3 separate regions of the Homo sapiens genome follow, and regions 2 and 3 are each linked to region 1. The links are contacts of gene promoters, found by promoter capture Hi-C in blood cells and fetal thymus (Javierre and others, 2016). All regions are on one chromosome and are shown on one strand. The core of a region is centred on a gene start or on the middle of the fragment in contact, and the rest is flanking DNA. Distances in the headings are between cores, read along the strand shown.

Region 1 (3,767 bases), core at 1-2,500:
GGTACACTACACAGGCTGCCTCTGGAGGAGGGCAGAGGGGGACCTGCATGGCAGTTTTTCATACTTGTGCTCTTTCGCTGACTGATTTCAGATGGACACCTGTAGCTTTCAAAGTCTCTATAATTTTCCCCAACCCCTCCACCTTATCTCCCTCAAGTTCTATTTCTGCTCATCATTTCCGTTCAGGGAGTTTTTTTTTTGTTTTTTTTTTTTAAAGTGAGGGCCTATTCCAGAACCACCTGGTTAGACCCAGGTACCTCTCAAAAATACAAACTTCTGATGAATTCAAAGTGGGTAAGAGTCTGCTGATGCTGACCACTTAGCGATGCAGGGGAAAATATTGGGGGCACCAGCTGCCTGCGTGGTCTTGGGCAGATCACTCCAGGCAGGCTCAGATACACATAATGAAGCAGTTATGTGAAGTCCTTATAGGGGGACCTCATGGTAGTACTCCATGAGATTGATGACAGAAGAGATATTTCTCACTTATAGGGCTCCTGATCCTTTCTGAGAGCCCTTAGGATAGAAAAATCTTCAAAGACTAGAATACCAGTGACAGGTGGAGAACTGTCCTCTGTCCTCCATGGGATTAAACATAAAGTGCCTATGGTATGAGTTGGTTCTCTAAGTAGAGACTGATTACATTGCTTGAGTAAGGAAAGAAAATTCAAGTGATTCTTTCCATTTATATTACTGTTATGCATAACCAATTTTATAAATACATTTATAAGTAAATAAATACATACCTGTATAGTATCATCTTGTTCTTAAAGTTGCCCTCAAAAGGAGAGAAGGCTAGAAGATAAAGTTTCTGAGGCCCAGGAAAACTTTAACATTCCTTATCTAACTCATGGCAGAACCTGGATTAGAAAAATGGTCTCTGATACCCAGCACCACTTCTTTCAGCTCCTTCATCCCTGGGACAGTCAACAGGGGAGTCAGTTCCCAGAGCCATTTTTCCCCCTCTCTCTAGTCTCTTCCTGACCTGAGAATCAGAGATCAGAGATTGATAAAAAGCAAATGTTAGATGAGAACACAGAGCCTCCCGAGTTGAGCCAGAGGCCCAGAGTGGAACAAGAAACCTGGAACTATTCAGGATGGGGTAGACAGGAGAGTGGAAGAGAATCCGGCCGGACTCACCTGTGAGCTGCCAAAGGATATAGATGAGGGTGAGGCATGTTGGGGAACCAGCCATATTGCTCTCTGGAAGTCAGCCACTGAAATGAAGCCACTTCCCTCTTAGGTATTACTCAGACCTCTTCCCCAGCTGATATTTAAAGAAGCAGGAGGGGTCACGCCGCAGACATGTGAGATTGAGTAATTGCTAAATTATTTTCAGAGTGAATAGAGCATTTTACCTTGCCACCAGCAATCTATGAGAGATCTATTTGCTCCCCATCTTCATCAGCATTTGGTATATTCCCATTTTATATTTTAGCTGTTTTAATAGGTGCTGTAGTGATACCTCATTGTGGCTTTAATTTGCATTTCCCTAAAGCCTAATAATGTTGAACATCTTTTCATGTGCTTATTTGCCATCTATATATCCATATCCTCCTTGGTGAAATGTCTATTTATGTCTTTTGTCCATTTTATAATCAGATTCTTTATTTTTTTTACTGTTGAGCTTTGACAATTCCTTATATGTTCCAAGTATAAGAGTCATTTGTCAGATATGTGGTTTACAAATATTTTCTCTTGGTCTGTAGCCTGTCTTTTCATCTTCTTAACGGGGTCTTTGGCAGAGCAAAAATTTTAATTTTGATGAAATTCAACTTATCAGTTTTTTTTCTACCCACACTAGGGTCCAAAGGTTTTCTCCTGAAAGTTTTATAGTTTTATGTTTTACATTTAAATGTATGATCCTGTTTTAATGTAAGGTGTGAAGTTTAGGTTGAGATTCACCTAAATATATTGTCTATATTCATTGAGAACCATATCAGGTAATATGGTTGACAGTTTTTTTTTGCTTTCGACACTTGAAAAGTGTCATGACACTCCTCCCCTCCATGGTTTCCAGTGAGAAATCAGCCATCATTTAAATTGTTTTCCCTATAGGTAATGTGTCATTTTTCTCTAGCTGTTTTAAAAGTTTTTTGTTTGCCTTTGGTTTTCAGAAGTATGATTACAATGTGCGTGTTTTTTTTTCTTCTGCCTGTGGGTGTTCAATTGTTCTACTACCATGTGATGGAAAAGATGATCTTTCCTACATTGAATTACTTTTGTATCTTTATCAAAAATCAGCACTTATACTTGTGTGGGTATATTCTGGAGCTATCTATTCTATTTAACTGACTTACATAATGTAATTATTTATATATCAGAGCTTAAGTTTGCCATGTTATTATTTTCTCTTTGTTCTTCTGGGCTTTTGTTTGTTTATTTTGTTCCTCTGTTTCACTTTCCTGGCCATCCTGTGTGTTACTGGAATATTTTTTATAATTCCATTTTGATTTATCTATAATGTATCTTTTTGAAGAGTTTTTTTACTGGTTGCTGTACATATTGCATTTTACATACATAACTTTTGATCTACCTATCAGTGTTGACATTTTACCAGTTGAACTAGGTATAGAAAACTTACCTATATTAGGTTTCTTTATTAGTCTATCTTTATACTTGTCTTAAATATATTGTCTATATTCATTGAGAACCATATCGGTAAGATTATAAGTTTTGCTTCAATTGTTGAACATAATTCAGAACACTCAAGAGGAGAAGGACAATCCATTACATTTACCCATATTTTAACTCTTTTCATTGTTATTTCTTTATTTCTAATGTTTCAAGTTTCCTTCTTTTTATTTTTTTTTGGACGAAGTCTTGCTCTGTCATACAGGCTGGAGTGTAGTGGCATGATCTTGGCTCACTGCAATCTCCGCCTCCTGGGTTCAAGCGATTCTCCTGCCTCAGCCTCCTGAGTAGCTGGGACTACAGGCTCATGCCACCATGCCCACCTACTTTTTGTACTTTTAGTAGAGATCAGGTTTCGCCATGTTGGCCAGGCTAGTCTCAAACTCCTGACCTCAGGTGATCCACCAACTTTGGCCTCCCAAAGTGCTGGGATTACAGGTATGAGCCACCACACCCAGCCTTCAAGTTTTCTTCTTTAATCATTTCTTTCTGTTTCAAGATATTCTTTAGGAATTCTTTTATGATAAGCCTGCTGATAACAAATTATCTTAGTTTTCCTTCACCTGAGAATGTCTTGATTTAACCCTCATTCCTGGGTATAAAATTCTAGGTTGACAGTTTTTTTTCTTTCAACACTTGAAAAGTGTCATGACACTCCTCCCCTCCATGGTTTCCAGTGAGAAATCAGCCGTCATTTAAGTTGTTTTCCCTGTAGGTAATGTGTCATTTTTCTCTAGCTGTTTTAAAAGTTTTTTGTTTGTCTTTAGTTTTCAGAAGTGTGATTATAATGTGTCTTGGTGTGAATTTCTTTGGGTTTCTCTTATTTGTGATTCATTGAGTCTCTTGAATCTGTAGGTTTTTACCTTTTGCTAAGTTTGGGGAAATTTCATTATTTTTTGAATACTTTTTTTTCAGCCTCACATTCTCGCTTCTCTCCTAAAATTCTGATGACATGAATGTTATAAATCTTTTGTTTTTCTCCCACAGGGCTCTGAGGCTCCATTTTTTTTTTTTTTTTTTTTTTTTTTTGGCCTATTTTCACTCTGTTTTCAGATTGGGTATTTTCTATTGTTTATCTTCAAGTACACTGATTCTTTCCTTTTTCATCTCCATTTTGCAATTTTTTATTTTTT
Region 2 (3,767 bases), core at 470-2,969, 120 kb after region 1:
TGTGCTCTAAGGGAATAGTGCTCCCCATCCCACAATTCCCCACTACCTTCCCCAACACACATACCCATCCTCACCTCAACCCCATTCACCATTTGTCCCTTGTAAGTTAGCAACACACAAAACTGCCTCAAACTTGCGGTAAAATTTATATTTAGTTGCTGCACCTTTCATAAAACCTTGCTAAAGAAATTATATTGGCAGCTTCTAATGCTATAATCATCAGAATGCAGCCTGACGCTGAAGGCTTTTCAATTTCATGACTCTTTGGCAATTTCATGTCCAGGAGAATACACTGATAAAGAATGTGGGTATAGGCATTAGACAAACTTACATTCAGATGCAGATTTTGCTACTGACAAGCTGTGTGATCAAATGACTTAACTTCTCGTCTGCAAAACAGGGGTAATACTATGTACTTCATGGTATTGTGGTGGAGATTGGTATCAATACACAGAAAACACTGAACACAGTGGTTCCCATCGATGGGTGATAGATAGATAGATACATAGACAGATAGATACATAGACAGATAGACAGATCTCTTAGTGTAGATGAATTAAAATGGCAATGTGTAAGTGCTATGGCCAGGAGAAGCTGCACTGGAAGCATCTGGAAACAATACCTAGAACAGATTGAAAATATTTTAAGTCATGGTAACATAAGACTTTATGCTTCAGGTAAAAGCTGAAAAGGATATTAGATACTCTATGCCCTCATTTTACAGTTATGGTAAGAGAAAAGACCCATTGAGATGACGTGATTTGTCCAATGCCACACAGCTAATGATGGCTACAATGTAGATGTCCTAATTTTAAGGCCAAGACTTTTTCCTTAGAGCCTAAGACCTTGCTGACTTGGAGCCGAGTTAAGCTTACTCCTAAAAACCTGTTCTTGCACTGGGGAAAATAACCTGAGACTAAATTATCTTGGTCCAATGGTCCTTTTAAGCAGCAACAATCAACCTCACCTCTTCCATCTGTCTGACCATTTAGGACTGTCCTTCCAGTTCTACATTTGACTCTGAGCTGACCTGCAAGACTGAAAGTCTTTGAGGACTGTAGTCTGTTCTCTACTCTATTTGTAGCCACTACAGCACCTAGGAGAGTGCTGGGCAGGCATGTCTTACTTTGCAAACACTCGTGGGGACTAACTTGAACCTCCTCTGCTACCTCCAACTGCTTCTTGAGTCCTCCCCTCCATTTTACACACACACACACACACACACACACACACACGCACTCACGCACACTCCTCAGTCAGGATCAACTCTGACCAAAAAAGCGAAGTTGAAACCACTAGGCACACCGTGCTCATACCCACACACAAAAAATCCCATGTTGACTTTCCTTGAATTCCTGGAACTTCATCAGTGTCTGCCCCACATTTCCTCCCCAAGACTCACACCCTCACGCAGCACATTCCACCATGCTCACCACATACACACTGGGCCTTTCCCTTCCAAAGAAAAATGTGCCTCTCCTAAAAATGCTATTTCCTCAGAGATGTGCCTTTTTTTTTTTTTTTTTTTTTTTGAGATAGATTCTTGCTCTGTCACTCAGGCTGGAGTGCAATGGCATGATCTCGGCTCACTGCAACCTCTGTCTCCTGGGCTCAAGCAGTTCTTCTGTCTCAGCCTCCTGAGTAGCTGAAATTATAAGCGCGTGCCACCATGCCTGGCTAATTTTTGTATTTTTAGTAGAGACAGGGTTTCCCCATGTTGGCCAGGCTGGTCTCAAACTCCTGACCTCGTGATCTGCCCACCTCAGCCTCCCATAGTGCTGTGATTATAGGCGTGAGCCACTGCACCCAGCCCAGTTTTTTAAGAGAATAAATTAACTGGTGTTAAAATAAGTCTACCTTAAAGGCTGTGATTTTCTGGGTCCAGCCTCCATTGCCTCTGCCTGGACTTTGCAATAATCCCATAATAAACCTCCATCCTTCAGTCTGCCACTTTCCCACCATCCTTACTGCTGCATGATGTATACAAAGGATACTGTGCAACTTTAGAAAGAATGAGATAGGTCTACTGTGCTAACATGAAAAATGTCCTCAATACATTTTAAGTGAAAAGATCAAGTTACAGAGAAGTGTGTGCAGAATGACACCTCTTGTGTGGAAAAAAGTCTATATAAGTATAGCAAATATCCAAAACTGCATTGTCTAATATGGTAGTCACTAGCCACATGTGGCTTTTTAAATTTAAATTAATTTGAATTAAATAAAATTTAAAATTCAGTGACATTAGTCACAGTTCAGGTGCTCCATAGCCCCGTGTCTGTAAGCTGTATTAGACACTGCAGATATGGAACATTTCCATCATCTCAGAAAGTTCTGTTGCACAGAGCTGATCTACAGGGATATACATCAAACTTTTAAAAATGGTTTCTTCTTTTTTTTCCCACTTCTTTTCACAGGTATTGAAAAATACGGTTTCTTTTGGGAATGAAATTGGGTTGGTTAATGGAAGAAGGGGATTTATACTTTTTACTTTATACTTTATATATTTCTTCACAATTTTTATTTTATGATGAGAATAAATTACTCCTATAATTTAAAAAGAAAGCTTTTTAAAATTGGCTAAAAATTAAAATATTCTGCAACTTATTAATTTCCAGAGACCCTAGGCCCTGAGCAAAATTTCCAGATGGTGGGCAACAGAATGACATTGTTGCTTTATTTTCTAAATAGTCCCAGGTGGAACATCCCTCTTACACGTCCCCCCGCCCTTACCTCCCACACATCAATTCCCCCAGAAATAGGGAGGTGAGAAAGCTGTGAGTGAAGCAACATACTACCAGCTGGAAAATACAAAAGAGGTATAAACAACTAGCCCTGCCCTCAAAGAACTTAGAATCCTATTAGGAGACCAGATATGCACATTGAGCAACAGAGATTAAAGTAATTGAATGGTACACCAATGAGAAAAACACCTAATGCGTATTGGGCATTTGTTATGCACCAGGCAGTGTTCTAAACACTTTACAAGTGGTATCTCATTTAATTATCACAACAGCCCCGTGAGGCAGGTATTTCAAATCCCATTTCACAGATAGGCCTAGAGTGATCAAGTAACTAACCTAAGACAATATGACAAATGTGCAGGGGGGCTGGGACTCAGGGCTTTGTTTCCATTGTGCCCTTGGGGAAAGTGGGTATGCAAAGGACAGTAAAGACCAGGTCTGAGTAAGGAGCTCCTGCTGGGGACCAGAGGGAGATAACCATTATGGTTTCTTTTCACCAGGTAAAACGAACCATTACCAGACAACAGTGGAAAAAAAAAGCCTTACGATCTATGCCCAAGTCCAGAAACCAGGTGTAAGTTCTATATTTTGTTTGAGATGAACCTGTCATGTTTCCTAGAGTATTCCTGGCCAGTCTACCTTGCCTGTTGGACATTCACAGTTTTCCATCCAGAGCAGAGGAAGGTAGGGAACAGGAGTCAAGAACAAGAGTTCTCCTAAAGTCACTAAACGTCAGTGTTTGAAATAATGGGCAACACTGGATAATTTTCTGGTCATGAGTCTTCACAGGAAAAAAATGAAGAAGCTGGAAATACATACTGTATGACTCTTTCCAGCTCTGGCATTGTAGGAGTCTAGGTTCCATGTTAGTCAATTATTTCCTTTTCTAGGGAAAAGAGTGCAGGCTTGAGGAGAGAGGAGGTTTGGAAAAGCTATTGTGTGACATGTTGGACTGATCCAAGTTTAGGATTTACTAAGTGCAAAAGTGACAAGGAAGGTAGGATCTTCAAAATTCTAGCTAGAGTG
Region 3 (3,767 bases), core at 772-3,271, 100 kb before region 1:
CCTCTAGTCATAACTTATATTTGCCTCTAGTTGGCAGCCAGGTTAGGGCTACCAGAGATTCCAGATCATTAGTTCAATCCAGGGTTGTGATGATTCAAAATTGAGCTTCAGTTCCTGTGAGGGCTGTTCATTTCTCGTTCACTCTTACTCTTTGGGTATAGCCCTCTGTGGTACCAACCTCAACACTGATGGATTTTATGTATACCCGCTTTCTAATAGGAGGGACGTGAACTTCATGTTCTCTTAGTTCCTTGAGTTTTATTGTGAGCTCTGCTCAGCTTCTCAGCCTTTTAGCTGCCATTTATGGAATCAGAAGATGCCTCCAGGGAACAACAGTCAGAAATGCTGATCTCACCTCTCTGAATTTCCTTCTTCCAGATATTGGCCCCATAATTTTTCACTGCTTTATAAACTCTCTGATAACTTTAACAATGTGCTTTTACATGTTGTTCATTTTTCTTCTAGCTATTTTTAGTGGGAGGATTGGTTAGCATGTCTTAACCTGGATTTTCATTACATAATTAGAATTCCTTCGATGATTTTTTATCTCAACAATTAAGGGGATGCTGTAGAATGAAAGTGTTCTGTTTCCAGATCACAAACTCTCTGGAGTCAGGAATCATGCCTTATACATGAAGAGGCCCTGCCTCTTCAGGGGCTGGATTGCAGTGGGACTCAGTAAGGACTGAATAATTGATGAAGACAGTATATGTCCTCCTTGTAGGTTTAGTAATGATTTTTTCCATTCACCTTTGTTCTCAGGGTCTTTGTGCAATATTTGGTAGGTTGACTTGTTCTTATAAATAGTGCTAGGATCGTAGGAGACAGAGACACAGAGATGCACAGCACAGTCTCTGCTTTTGAGAAGCTTTTGGTTTGCTAATGGGCAGAGCCAGTACAAGTCATATAAATATAAATGGGAACCTATGTGTTTTAGTCTTAGGAGCATCAAGATCAAAGAAACATATTTCATCAAACAAATAGTATTACAAGTCCTTTAATTATTTACTTAGTCTCTTGAGAAAATGCCAGGGTGAAGCTGTGGCTTGGAGAGACTGCATTCATAATGCACTGGACATATAAAAACCCCTCTGTCTCAATTGCTCTCTTCTTAATAGCCTCCATTTTAACGGAGCCACTTGTAAAACTCTCCCCATCTCTTATTTTCTCTTCCAAATCCTCCCTGAGCCTCCCCAACTCACCCAGAGAGACTTTTTAATTTCCTGCACCTGCTGGGCCATGCCACATAGCTTTATTACTAAAAATGGCTGTAGGAACTTCCAGTTTTGTACACTGACTGCACAGAATTGCTCTAGGTTGTCACACCCCCATATTCATTAGGTTTCATCTTGATTCTTTGAGAGGCAAGTGCTGGGATCTGCCTGGGAAGTGTAGTTTTATTTTTAAAATTGTTTTCTAGGGAGAAATTTTTGTGGAGACTTTCTGATCACTGAAAAACTGGCAAACATCAATAAGTAATGACCAAAATCCAATGAACCAAGTGCCACGAGAGAGGATTATGTATTCAGCTCTGTGAGAGGATGGTTGAGGGGCCATGAGTTCAGCTTGGACGGTTAGTCTTCCTGGGCCTGACCATTCAGAATTTCCAACAGTCACTACTTGCCATTAGTAGTTGCCTCAGCACTGCTTGGAGGGAGTCACCTTAGATGTGGTATTTATAGCATCATGGTTAAGAATTTATCCTCTCAAGCCAAACTGCTGTCTTTACAAAGAGTAAACAAATAAGCTCCCTAGCACCTGTGCTCCCAGCTACTAGGGAGGTTGAGATGGGAGGATCACCTCAAGCCCAGGAGTTCAAGGCTGCAGTGAGCTGTGATTGCGCCACTGCACTCCAGCCTGGGTGACAGAGTGAGACCCTGTCTCTAGAAAACAAAACAAAAGAAAACAAAAACATAACACCAAACTGACTAGGTTTCAGGCTCATCATTCTTTTAACTCATCATACCTTTTAACTTAAATAGTTAAAATGTATAAAGTGTGAAACCTGCCTGTCACATAGTAAGTACTCAAGATTTTAGCTATTGGTCTATGGGATCCCTCAGACTAGGGACACAGAGCTTGGGGACAAGGGGAGGCAGATGGAGGGGATATGCTTTAAGGTGCTCCTAGGTTCTGGGCTCCTCATACTCATCCCCACCCAATTGGCTTAAGGGAAGTCACATCCAGCTGCCCACATTGCTCAGGCCTGACACTCTTCCCGCTACTTTCAGCTTGGGTTCTCTTTCCTAGGATGCCAGGGATCAGCTGACCATGTGGTTAGCATCTCGGGAGTGCCTCTTCAGTTACAACCAAACAGCATACAGACGAAGGTTGACAGCATTGCATGGAAGAAGTTGCTGCCCTCACAAAATGGATTTCATCACATATTGAAGTGGGAGAATGGCTCTTTGCCTTCCAATACTTCCAATGATAGATTCAGTTTTATAGTCAAGAACTTGAGTCTTCTCATCAAGGCAGCTCAGCAGCAGGACAGTGGCCTCTACTGCCTGGAGGTCACCAGTATATCTGGAAAAGTTCAGACAGCCACGTTCCAGGTTTTTGTATTTGGTAAGTCTCCAGGACTGTTCATACTGCCCTCTCTGATTCCTATAGGCCTCTAAGTTCTGTATTTCCAATGCCTTTCTGATCAGAATCTCTGCTTCCAGATAAAGTTGAGAAACCCCGCCTACAGGGGCAGGGGAAGATCCTGGACAGAGGGAGATGCCAAGTGGCTCTGTCTTGCTTGGTCTCCAGGGATGGCAATGTGTCCTATGCTTGGTACAGAGGGAGCAAGCTGATCCAGACAGCAGGGAACCTCACCTACCTGGACGAGGAGGTTGACATTAATGGCACTCACACATATACCTGCAATGTCAGCAATCCTGTTAGCTGGGAAAGCCACACCCTGAATCTCACTCAGGACTGTCAGAATGCCCATCAGGGTAAGTGGAACACACTGGGCTATAACAAGCGCTGAAGGTTTGGACCCCGCAACCAGGCTCATGTGCAAGACAGATGTGGTATGAGATAAAATCCCTTGGCCTCCTCTCCCAGTGCCTTGTAGCCCTTCCCAGGGTAGCCCTGGCCTCCAGGCACACAGTTCCTGTAAAGCTAGGCCTATCCTACTCTGGAAAAAAATGTTATCCCTATTTCCTTCTGGGAGATGCAAGCTTTTCTTCTGCAGAGGGAGGGCATAGTTGTTTGGTGAGTGACAGTCCTGAAATGGCTCCTGAACATTATTTTCTTCCTGGGAGAGGCTGATGGAGAACTGTCCTCTCCTCTTGAGTGATAACTTTCTCCAAGCCACATAGTTCAAGAGGTAACTACACTGTGCAGCAGTAGCCTGGAGCAGGAGCATCAGGATGACCCCAGGGATACCTAGATGAGTTCTTGGGCTGTTGCTTATGCTCATCCTAAGAGTTACCTGAGTTACCGTTCCACAACTTTTTATTACATAAACAGGGACTTAATGTACCAGCAGCATGGGCATTATAGGAAAAAAAAACCATACAGCTCTCATTCATAAGGAACTTATAGCCAAATGGGGCAACAAAAATAACTACTTGTGGACAAAAAAGAAACAAGACTGAGGCAGGCCGGGCGCAGTGGCTCCCTGTAATCCCAGCACTTTGGGAGGCTGAGGTGGGTGGATCACAAGGTCAGGAGTTTGAGACCAGCCTGGCCAACATGGTGAAACCCTGTCTCTACTAAAAATACAAAAAATTAGCTGGGCGTGTTGGCGGGCACCTGTAATCTCAGCTACTCAG

What was found. Contacts are between HindIII fragments. The CHiCAGO score rates a contact against its expected background, and 5 or more counts as called.
Region 2: a contact is called between a fragment that was not itself captured here and the fragment with the promoter of SLAMF7 in region 1, in 4 of 17 cell types (total CD8 T cells, naive CD4 T cells, activated CD4 T cells and 1 more). The highest score is 6.6, in total CD8 T cells.
Region 3: a fragment that was not itself captured here is called in contact with the fragment with the promoter of SLAMF7 in region 1 in 2 of 17 cell types (activated CD4 T cells and total B cells); the score reaches 5.4 in activated CD4 T cells.

The regions. Positions count from the first base shown.
Region 1 is chr1:160,736,730-160,740,496 of GRCh38, reverse strand. It overlaps SLAMF7 (SLAM family member 7), which reads right to left and starts at 1,250. Exons shown (of 7, transcript NM_021181.5): 1 at 1,141-1,250. The coding sequence starts at 1,195. LOC124904440 (a long non-coding RNA gene) reads left to right here and starts at 1,338. Exons shown (of 2, transcript XR_007066687.1): 1 at 1,338-1,414. The HindIII fragment of the contact is 11,353 bases long and covers 1-3,767 here.
Region 2 is chr1:160,619,324-160,623,090 of GRCh38, reverse strand. SLAMF1 (signaling lymphocytic activation molecule family member 1) reads left to right here. Exons shown (of 7, transcript NM_003037.5): 5 at 3,242-3,315. Among named protein-coding and RNA genes, the nearest start is that of SLAMF1, 26 kb to the left of the region's middle. The HindIII fragment of the contact is 1,693 bases long and covers 873-2,565 here.
Region 3 is chr1:160,840,385-160,844,151 of GRCh38, reverse strand. It overlaps CD244 (CD244 molecule), which reads left to right. Exons shown (of 9, transcript NM_016382.4): 2 at 2,251-2,568; 3 at 2,667-2,942. Among named protein-coding and RNA genes, the nearest start is that of CD244, 21 kb to the left of the region's middle. The HindIII fragment of the contact is 2,302 bases long and covers 871-3,172 here.